Regions from separate parts of the Homo sapiens genome. Here region 1 is linked to region 2. Evidence: promoter capture Hi-C in 16 types of primary human blood cells and fetal thymus (Javierre and others, 2016). All regions are on one chromosome and are shown on one strand. The core of a region is centred on a gene start or on the middle of the fragment in contact, and the rest is flanking DNA. Distances in the headings are between cores, read along the strand shown. Region 1 overlaps MYO16 (myosin XVI). Region 2 holds the start of COL4A1 (collagen type IV alpha 1 chain).

Region 1 (5,461 bases), core at 1,326-3,825, 1.3 Mb after region 2:
GCAATCCCAGCTACTCGGGAGGCTGAGGCAGGAGAATCGCTTGAACCCAGGAGGTGGAGATTGCAGTGAGCCGAGATCACGCCACCACTGCACTCCAGCCTGGGCAACAGAGTGACACTCTAGTCTCGGAAAAAAAAAAAAAAAGGCAATTTGAAAATCAAAATAAATGATGTCCATTTATGCCCTTTATTGTGTCTACATGTATCCTGTTTCTATTACCATTAAATATTTTTAAAGTTTTAATTTTGAAATAAGTTTAGATTTGTATACAGTTGTAAGAAATGATACAGATAAATCTTGTGTACTCTTTACTTAATTTCTTTCAATAGTAACATCCTGCAAAACTATCACAACCAGGATATTGACATTAATGCAGTGAAAATATAGAATATTTACATCACCACACGGATCCCGCATGTTGCCAATTTATAAACAATTTCACTTCCCCAAAATCAGTTGAGTCCCTTTGTGTGGTTCTATTTCTGTGTCCTTATTCCGTTCCATTAACCTATGTGTAACATGCTTTAAGGACGTTAAATGGAGAAGGTGAATTCCTCCCACTTCATTCTTCTTTATAAACATTGTTTTAGCTATTCTATCTTCTTTACCTTTCAATGTAAATTTTAGAATGGTATCATCTATACCTTTATATCTATAAAAATTTTACTGTGATTTGGATAGGAATGCATTAGCCTATATGTCAATCTGGGGAGAACTGATTACTATGATGATTACTATTAAATTGACACTATATTGTCTTCAAATCTATAAACATGAAATGTCTTTCTTTTTATCTAGATCTTTAATTTATTTTATCAGAATTTTGTGGTTTTCGCCACACAAGTTCCCTACATATTTTGTTAGATTTACACCTAAGTATTGCATTTTTATGAGCAATTGTAAATGTAATTGTATGGTTCACTTCAATGCCCATTGCTAGTATACAGAAATACAATTGATTTTTTGAATGTTTATCTTGTGTCTTGTGACCTTGCTAAACTCACTTATTAGTTCTTTGAGTCTTTCCTTTCTTTTTTTATGGTAGATTTCTTGGGATTTTACACAAAGGCAATTAAATAAGCACAGGTTTATTTCCTCCTTTCCAATCTGTTTGCCTTTTATGTCCTTTCTTGCTTTATTACACTTGCTAGAACTTCCAGCAGCCTATGTTAAGAGTGGTGAGAGCAGACATCCTTGTCTTGTTTCTGATCACAGAAGTAAAACATCCAGATTTCACCCTTAAATATAATATTGGCTGTAGGATTTTTGTAGAAACTCTTTATCAAGTTCAGGTTATCTTTTCCATTCCTATTTGTCTGGGAGTTGATTTTTATCATGACTGGATGTTAAATTTTATCAAATGCTTTTTCTTCATCCTGTGATATAATCATGTATTTTTTTCTTCTTTGACCTGTTGATGTGATTGATTACCTTGATAGATTTTGAGATATTGAATCAGCTGTGCATCCCCAGAAAAAGAAAACAAAAACCAAAACCGTTCTTTTTATATATTGCTAAGTTCTATCTGCTAATATATTAAACATATTTTTTCACCTATATTCATGAGGGATGTTTTTTGTTTTTAATTTTCTCTCTCTCTCTCTCTCTCTCTCTCTCTCTGTGTGTGTGTGTGTGTGTGTGTGTATGCTACTGTCTGTGTGGTTTTGGTGTTAGGATAATACTTGCTTTATCAAATGAATTAGAGAGTATTCTTTTCTATTTTCTAGAAAAGATTGTGTAAAGTTGGCTTTAATTTTCCTTAAAACATTTGGTAGAATTCTCCAGTGAAACAATCTGGAATAGGAAGCTTTTTTGAGAGACTTTAAATTACAAATTCATTTCTTAAAAGTTATGGTGCTATTCAAATTGTCTATTTCATATTGGGTGAATTGAAGTAGCTTGTGTTTTTTGAGGAATTGATCCATTCATCGAAGTCATAGAATTTATGTGTGAGAGCTGTTTGTAATATTCCCTTTGTATCTTTTTGATGTCTACAGGGCCTATAATGATTTTCCTTGTTTTATTACTGATATTGGCTATTTATGTATTTTCTATTTTCTCTTTGTCACTCATATTATAGGTTTATAATTTTTATTGGTGTTTTCAAAGAACCAGCTCTTTGTTTCATTGATTTTCTCCTTTTTTTCTAATTCCATTGATTTCTGCTTTTTTGTCATCGGTTTCCATTTGCTTACTGTGGTTTATTTTGCTCCTACGTTCCTGAGATGGGAGCTTAGATTATTGGTTTGAGATTTTCCCTATTTTCTAACGTACGCATTTAGTGATATACATTTCTCATTCAATACTATTTTAGCTGTGCCACACAAGTTTGACATGTTGTACTTTCATTTTCATTAGGTTCAGCATATTATTTTTAATTCTGTCACGATTTCCCCTTTTATCCATGGATTATTTGGAAGGGCACTGTTAAGTTTCCAAGTATACAGAGATTTGGCTGTTTTCTTCCCGTTATTGATTTCTGGGTTGATTCCATTGTGGTAGGCAAACCTACTCTGTATAATTTCAATTCTTTTGAGTTTGCTTAGTTTTGCTTTACGGCCGAGCAGATAGTCCATCTGGACACATGTCCCATGGGTACTCGAAAAGAATATGAGTTCTGCTTTTGCTGGTGGATGTGTTTATAAATATTGACTAGATCCTATTGGTGATGGTGTTGTTCAGTTCTCCTGCACCCTTGCCGATTGCCTATGTCATTGTTTTACCAATTGTTGAGAGGAGGGTGTTGAAGTTTCCAGCATCACTTTCTGTCTAGCTGGCTCCTTCCAGCACTTGGCAAGAGAAGGAAGGCACAGCCTCACTACTGCCTTGTCAGAGTAGATGTCTAGGTCCCTACCCAGCCTCCTCTGATATGCAAGAAGAATGAATCCTCATTATTTCTGGGTGAAGATAAAGGCTCTACCTCTCCACTAAGCCTCCAGTCATTCTTCCCTGGCTGTGGGATGAGCAGTGGAATGGGCTGAAACACTTCTTTACTGCTTCCTACATAGCCTTCATAAATTGGGTAGTGGGGTATTATCTCTGCACAGTGCTGGAAGTCCTAACCCCCTACCAAGCCTCCTTTGATATCATCACAGTGGCAGGGAGCTAGGAGAAAAATATCCATTTAGAATCTTAGCACAGTAATAAGATCCTAAATAAACCTATGCATTGAAAAATTGTGCACACTAAAAGGAAAACTGTAATTTCAATAAATATAACTAAAAAGATTCTTTAAAATTTTGATTTAAAAAATATAACAAATTTGATTCTAAAAAAAAAGTATAATCTGGACTAAGACAGCCCGAATGTTTTCTTTTTGTCTTAAATGAATACAAAAGCTTTGTATTCATCAGGGTTCTCCAAATGAATAGAACCAGTAGTATAGTATAATATATATAGTCTGAGTTATTGGCTCACATAATTATGGGGGCTGAGAAGTCCCACAATCTGCCATCTGCAAGCTGGAGACCCAGGAAAGTCGACAAGGTAGTTCGAAAGCCTGACAGCCAGAGAGCCAATAGTGTAGATTCCAGTCTAAGTCAGAGGGCCCGAAATCCAGGAGTACCAAGGGCAGGAGATTGATATTGTAGCTCAAGCAGTCAAGCAGAGAGATTTCAACCTTCCTCTCTTTTGCACTATTCAGGCCCTCAAGGGATTAGGTGGTGCCCACCCACCCACTTGAAGCTAGCGAGGGCAACAGCTTAATCAGTCTACTGATCAAATGCTAATCTCTTCCCAAAACACCTCGAAGACACCCTCAGAAATGATGTTCAAGCAGCCATCTGGGCATCCCATGGCCCAGTGAAACCGACACATAAGTTAATCATCACAACCTGGGAGTTAATTCTGAAGAAAAGAGGGAAATGGAAAAAAAATATCTAACTTGATGATCGATCATGTTGGATCCCTGATAAATCCTCACTGTCTACAGAAATATGTACATTTTGCCTAATTAAATCCTTCGCTTTACAGCATTTTCCCATTTTCCCCATTGTACTCCCTACTTTCCTCTACCCTACTCACAGATTCCTCCCTTGCCATCACTGCTGCTTTTCCTTTCAATAAACTCCTTTCCAGCTTCTCCAGCAACCAAGGCCAACTCTGCCTTTCTAGGCCCAAGTCTCTGAGAGGCATCAAGCTGTTGTCAAAAGTGCATTGGCCTTGCTCAGTGACATACCTTCTGGAGTCCAGCTTCAACAAGCCCCAGGGCCTGGATAACCAGGGCAAGTTACTGAGTTTCCAAGGCTTCTCATCTACAACACATAGGCAGTAATGCTGACCTCTCTCTCTAGCTCTTTCTTCCTATCTCTCCCATTCTTTCTCTCTCTCTCTCTGTGTGTCTCTCGGTGGCTTTGGAGATAAATAAAAAGGCTTGTTCCTACCTACCTTTGCATAGTTTTTACTATAGTTTTCTCATGAATATCCCTAATTGATGTTTCTAATGCTCACCTGTACCTTCTTCTTTGCCGTTTTCCAGAGTTTTATACATGACTTACTTGAGAAGGACTCATGGCATTACCTAGGTAATCTGTCTTGAGGCTGCTAAATAGGCTGCCTCCCAATAAAAAGCTTCTCATTCTAGACCCATAATTGTCTCAGGTGAAATTCACTGATTGACAACTTATGAAGGAAATGCTTCCTAAGAAAAGAAGTCTCCCTAGAAAGGAGAGCCCATTAAACTCATCAGCATCTATACGCAGCACCTGGACTTCACTGAGGGCCGCCGCCTCCAGCTCCAGGAAGGGGCAATAACTTCGCATAGAGAAGAAACAAAGAAAAGCTGCACAACAGTGCAGACAAGGCCAGTGGCCTCCCGGGCAATTCAAAGGAAAGTGAGCCTCAGAGCCTAGTGAGATGGAAGCATTTCTAGGAAAGAAAAAGCACTAAGGAGAAACTCAGCCTGTATTAGAATTCACCTAGAGCTTTTTGAGTCTGGAGTGTCAGGTCTGCTGACACACAAAGGTCTGCTCTCTGCTGTGCCACTGGGGAGAGCAGGTTGGTGCTGCTGGAGCAGCAGAGAGAAGATTTTAGGTCGAAGGCTCTCCAGGGTCACTCAGGGCAGCTGCTTGGCTCAGGGCCTTGCTCATCTTTTTTGGTTTATTATTTGTGGGATGAAAGGAGAAAAGCATGAAAGTAGCCAAAGATAGAGGCTGGGTTTATGCCTTCCTTTTCCCCACTCTCTTTACATAACTGATCTTCAGGCTTTATGTATTTATTTTTCCTTCTCAAGATTGGAAGACAGGATTCATGCAGTACATGGCAGCGTCTCTCATGCATGTAATAGAGAAATTTATATTCATGCGACTCAATATGGATCTTTAAGGAAATTGTCATGTATTCAAAATTTCCTTTGGAATGATTCTGTTCAATAAAATAACTCAAAAGAAAACTTAGCATTTTGCTTATGCTGCGGCAGTTAGCGATCCTCATTTAAATGCTCCAGTGTGGATGCCAAATGAGG
Region 2 (5,261 bases), core at 6-2,505:
CCAAAGCAACGAAAACGGTGCCTCAGGCTACATTTTAAGTTCCCAGTTCCCGTGAAAGGCCGACGCTTGCAAAACACAGGATTGACGCTGGGAACCCAAGGGGAAGGAAAGGTGGAAAGCATGATGAGGGAAGAGCAAGCTTTCTCAGAACCTTGGTGGGCAGCCTGGCGAACATCCACACGCACACACACACTCGGGAGCGCACGGACGAGCTGCCTTCTCCAAGGCCACTCAAACGTCCCAACCACTCTCGGGCGCGCAAGTCCAAGCGCGGGAGCCAGGACTTACCGCCAAGACGCTCTGGGCGAGGAACCCCACGGTCACTGTCCCCAGCAGCAGCCACCTGCATGGGAAAGGGAGGAAGAGAGACGTGAACGTGCGGGCCCGGCTTGTCAGTCCCCGAGAGTTACACCGAAGGGTCCATGCGCGCGTGACCCACGGGGACCAGGCAGAAAGTCGCTTACCGCCGTAGGGCAGGGCCGGCCACCGCGCGCTGGTCTCTCCCCATGCTGGCGGTTCGTCCACTCTGGGCCCCGGTCAGTCCCACTTAGCCTAGAGGCGACAGACAAAGCGAGTTTAGCGCAGGATGAGGGAGGCAGCCCATCCTCACCGCCGGTCTCGGTCCGCGAGACGCGGGGACAGCGCGGTGCGCGGCCCGCATGCAGGGGTGACCGGAGGGCCGTCCCCCCCACGACCCGGAAAGAAGGAGAGCCTCCCGTTAGGCCCCTGTGGGTGCTCCTTGGCCGAGGAGCTCGGTCTTCGCTCTCCCACCCTCCCCCTTTCTACTCCCAAGCAGGAGAGCGTGCAGCCCTAGCCTGCACAAGGCGCTCCAAGTCGGTGCTCTCGGGCCAGGGTCTGGGCGCCGCTCGGGGGTCGCTCTCACCTCGGGCTCGGCTTCAGGGGCTGCTGCCCGAACGCATTGGCCCTTCCAGAAGCACCCGCCGGCGGCACACCGGCAGGGCGGCCGGCCTTGCTGGGCTCTCTGGGCGCCGGCCCCGGGGGCTCGGGCGGCCCCTTTCGGTCCTCGGCCTGGATCCGCGAACGCGCGGGCGCGAGGGGTTGGGACGCGGGAGCCTCTTGAGTGCGGAGCGCGGAGCCCTGGTGTCCCGGCGCACTGCAGCCACACTCCCGGGCCGCGCGCTCCCGCCGCCTCTTACCCGCGCCGCAGGGTCCTCCCCTTTGAGGCGCCGCCCGCGCACCGCCGGGGGGGAGGGGGCAGCGCCAACAAATTGGGGAGCTCGGCCCGCCGCGCTCAGGTCTCCGCTTGGAGCCGCCGCACCCGGGACGGTGCGTAGCGCTGGAAGTCCGGCCTTCCGAGAGCTAGCTGTCCGCCGCGGCCCCCGCACGCCGGGCAGCCGTCCCTCGCCGCCTCGGGCGCGCCACCATGGGGCCCCGGCTCAGCGTCTGGCTGCTGCTGCTGCCCGCCGCCCTTCTGCTCCACGAGGAGCACAGCCGGGCCGCTGCGAAGGTGAGTTCCCGGCCAGCTCCGCTCCCGGCGTCCCGCCCCGAGCTTGGGCGCCCCGAGAGGCCCCTTTGTCCGCGCCTGGACCCGTCCGCCTGCCCCTCGGGGGTCGCGCGTGGCACGGCCAGGTGCATTCTCTGGGCCGGGGTTCGTTGGGGGTCCCTGTAGGCTACGATCGCGCATTGGTGGACCGAGCCTCCTTTGTTATGGTATGGGTACTGGAGAGTTAAGGAATTCCTCCGGGGAAGGGAGGAGAAACAGCCCGCGCTGTGGCGGGGTGAGGGTGCCTGGGAGCCGGCGGGATTTGAACCCGCGTCGCGGGTATGCTCGGCAGCTGGGCGCCTTCACCCGTCCCGGGTGCGCGAGGGAGTTGGGGGCTGGAGGGCCGGGAGCGCCCACCCCGCGCTGCTCAGAGACCCACACTGGGAGCTCCGAGCTCCTAGCCCCTGGGAGCAGCTTTGGGCGTATTTCTCCTTGTCTGGAGACCCTGGTGGCTGAGGCTGAAAAGCTCTGGGCCCTTTGCCTGGAAACAGCTGTATCTGAGCTTTCCCACGACTGCTGCCTAAGGCGCGCTCCAAGGCAGAAGTGGGGCTCTTCTGGACGCCCGGCTTGAAGAAGCCACCATCCTCAACTCGTTGCCTTCTATTAATATATATTTTAAAAAATTATAACCACATTCATATTTGAGCATGAAACCAAAGTGAAACTCCATGTCATTGTTCCATGCACAAATTGTTTTTCTAGTTTTCATTTCCTTTGGTTATGTGCTTGCCCAGAAAGGATCTGGGAGATCGGTTTGCAGGAGGTTTGCAGGAGTCGAGGCTTCCAGCCGTGGACAAGCCTGGACTGACTGTTGTTTCCTTTTTTCCTTCCCCTCCGAGAGAATAAAGACTTCAGCTGTTGCTCAGTGTCACAGCCATGCAGTCCCACAGGCCGGAAGGTGTGGCTTCTGAACAGATTTTGCAGTTTCTCCCTCAAATGCTTAAAAATGATTTTTGCTACTTACCAGATTTTCCATACTTATTCTTTTACTGTTCTTAATCTTGTTCTTTGTTTTCCTCTTTAAAAAAAAATTTTACTTCTCTCCTGGAAGAATGATACTCACTAAATCCACTTAACTGTATAGAAATTGTTAACTGTTACATGCCAGAGAGAACTGGTGATATACACACACGTCTCCTAATTGAGAGCTTATCTCCCTGGAGGCAGCTTCTCCACTGGGTATTGAAAGGACTAATGATTACATCAGCAATTAACTTCAGATTGTACCTCCCAGCCCAGTCTCCCCAAACTTCATAGCCAGTTATTTAAACACTCTTTGGTAATGATGACAAAATACTTTCCAAAGAACAGGCTTGAGAGCACTTTATTTTGGTCTAGAAATATTGACCAAAAGATTGAACGCTTCCAAGGTGAGATGGTGAAGCCTGATGATGGTAAGGTAAATCAGAGAAAGTTCTTCATTGGGAAATAGGAGCTGTTTGCATTTCGATTTTCTGATGGATAATGTTAGCAAAGCAAAGAAAGCTAACTGTAAGAGCTGGCTTTCCAAACATCCAGGACTGTAGAAAGAAAGAACCACTCAGTTACGCAAATCCTGTTCTCACCCGGGAAATCAAACGCATTAATGTTGAGTTGGAGATGATTTTACTTCCCTTTAATCATTTCCTAAAGCTCAATTACATTCCCGGCCACTGTCTTTGCAGTGTCCCTTGAGGTGCCATGGACTGTTTTTAAGAGATGCAGCCTGTGGGCACTTCTGATCACAGCTGACCTCACAGATATTATCATTACTCTGTATTTTCCCTGGCTTAATTAGAGAAAAGTGCTTAATGTGCAGATGATGTATGGGTATACAAGAAAATCACTTAAAAACTGAATCTGCCTAATTTTAAAATTTGTCTCACTTTTCATGCCATCAATAACATTTTGGCTTACCTCCTTCCAAAATCAGCTGTTAGATGTACCATAACACTGAAATAGCTTCAATACTGATCCAAGCAAAACATAATTTAAAAGCACATTTTGAATGATAAGATGCTGTGGATTTGATCAGATCCTCATTCAGAAGCCAGTGGAAGTGACTGTTGGCTTACCTCTCCTTTGCACTGTCTGAATCACACTTCACCTGCATTTGTACATCCAGACATCACCTGCTGTGTGCCAGGCATGAATTGCCCTTATTGTTTTTTCTTCATGAAAGGCTGTTTAATTTTGTATTTGCTGTATCTGCTATGGTCATATTGTTTACGTACTCATGGGTGGATTTTCTAAACCATTGATTTTATCCCACGCTGAACCTACCACTCTACTCCCCGCTCCTCCCTTCCTCCACTTTTCTTCAGCAAGAAAGGAGGAATAGCTTGCAGGCTCCAGACAAACACGTGCCAGCAGTGTTCTGATTGTGAGCACCCTCTACTCTTAGTCACTCAGTTGCACTGGGCGGAATGAACCCTTCCTGCAGCAGCTTTCACACTCCCCTCTAGCTGGTTCTGTGTGATGCTTCTTAACAGATTATTTCTCAGGATTAGAAACGTGAACTTTCCCCTCAGTGTGGTGATGCTTGTCCAGCAATACTGTCATCTCCTGACCATTAGTCACCACCTCTGGGACTGAATGACCTAGAGTTCAAACTAAGTGAGATTTCATTCCCATATAAGTATGGACCATGTTCTACTGGAAATGTAGTTTAGAAGAGAAGGCTGGTTTCTGAATCAGTCCCAACAAGAGCAGCATCGCCCAGGATCTCAGGAGTGATATTGGTGAAGCTATTCCTTATATCTGCAAGCTCTTTATATTAATAGATGGAATTGGACTAGGGTGAAGGGACATAACTTTAAGACCAACCAGAAGACACAATGTTCATGTACTCTGACTAGATTCACAGAATTATCAATGCTATATATTATTAATAGTCACGTGTACACAGGATGAGTGTGCTTTAGGCACCAGAGGACCTTACATTTTATACCTGCTTTTAAGCAGATGATTTGGGGGTACTCATCAAACTCTATACCTCAGTTTCCCTGGCAGGTCTGTCCCTTCCTCACACGGACCCGTTTGTGCCTTCCTTCATTCCACACACACATCGGGAACACCTCCTTCCTGCCATGACCTTGCCAGGTGCTGGCCATGCGGCAGGGACTCACCCCCACTCTCTGTCCTCAGGAAGGTCAGGTGAGAAATATTGGAAAAGAAACAGACGAATCCAAGTCAGGCTGGTAAATGTCACAATCAGGGGAATCGAAGGGCTATAGGAACACTGAATCCAGCTTTGGGGAACTCAGAGGAAACTTCTGGGAGGGGCTTCCGCCTCTGAAATATGAGGGAGAAATAGGAACTATACACCAGCATGTCATTTCCATGTGCACTGTGATGGTGTACTATACACAGAAGACATGGTCATTCTGCCTGTCTGCTCTCAAGTCTAAGGGTCTTTGCACTGAAAGATGACCTTCAAGTTTGCTCCTTTGAGATACCAAAATGTCATTGTTTCTGTGATTAACAATCTTGGTGGCTGAACTTTGCTCTCAGAGGGGTGGAAAGAATTGGAAGGGCAGGGTTTAGGAGACCAGTGTTAAAAAAGAGCTCCCAGCTCCAACTGAGGCCCCAGTATGTGGTCCTGTCCCTTTTCTCGGAGGTGGCAGGTAGGCAGGCAGGGGATGTTTGGAAAGTTGCGGCATGGATGACTGATTCTAGTCAGGAGTGCCTTTAGGAACTGACCCAGAAAACCTACCCTTACTTGGGCCAGGCCATGAGGGAATTCACAAAACCCTACATTATTCATTAACAAGGCTGT

What was found. The method cuts DNA at HindIII sites, captures the fragments that hold promoters and counts their contacts. A CHiCAGO score of 5 or more calls a contact.
Region 1: a fragment that was not itself captured here is called in contact with the fragment with the promoter of COL4A1 in region 2 in 1 of 17 cell types (monocytes); the score reaches 5.5 in monocytes.

What each region holds. Positions count from the first base shown.
Region 1 is chr13:109,036,545-109,042,005 of GRCh38, reverse strand. All of the region lies in intron 23 of MYO16 (myosin XVI), which reads right to left. Among named protein-coding and RNA genes, the nearest start is that of MYO16-AS2, 63 kb to the left of the region's middle. The HindIII fragment of the contact is 1,531 bases long and covers 1,810-3,340 here.
Region 2 is chr13:110,303,151-110,308,411 of GRCh38, reverse strand. COL4A1 (collagen type IV alpha 1 chain) reads left to right here and starts at 1,255. Exons shown (of 52, transcript NM_001845.6): 1 at 1,255-1,468. The coding sequence starts at 1,385. It overlaps COL4A2 (collagen type IV alpha 2 chain), which reads right to left and starts at 1,128. Exons shown (of 48, transcript NM_001846.4): 1 at 884-1,128; 2 at 465-552; 3 at 289-343. The coding sequence starts at 508. RefSeq lists enhancers at 1-665, 666-1,499. The HindIII fragment of the contact is 7,261 bases long and covers 142-5,261 here.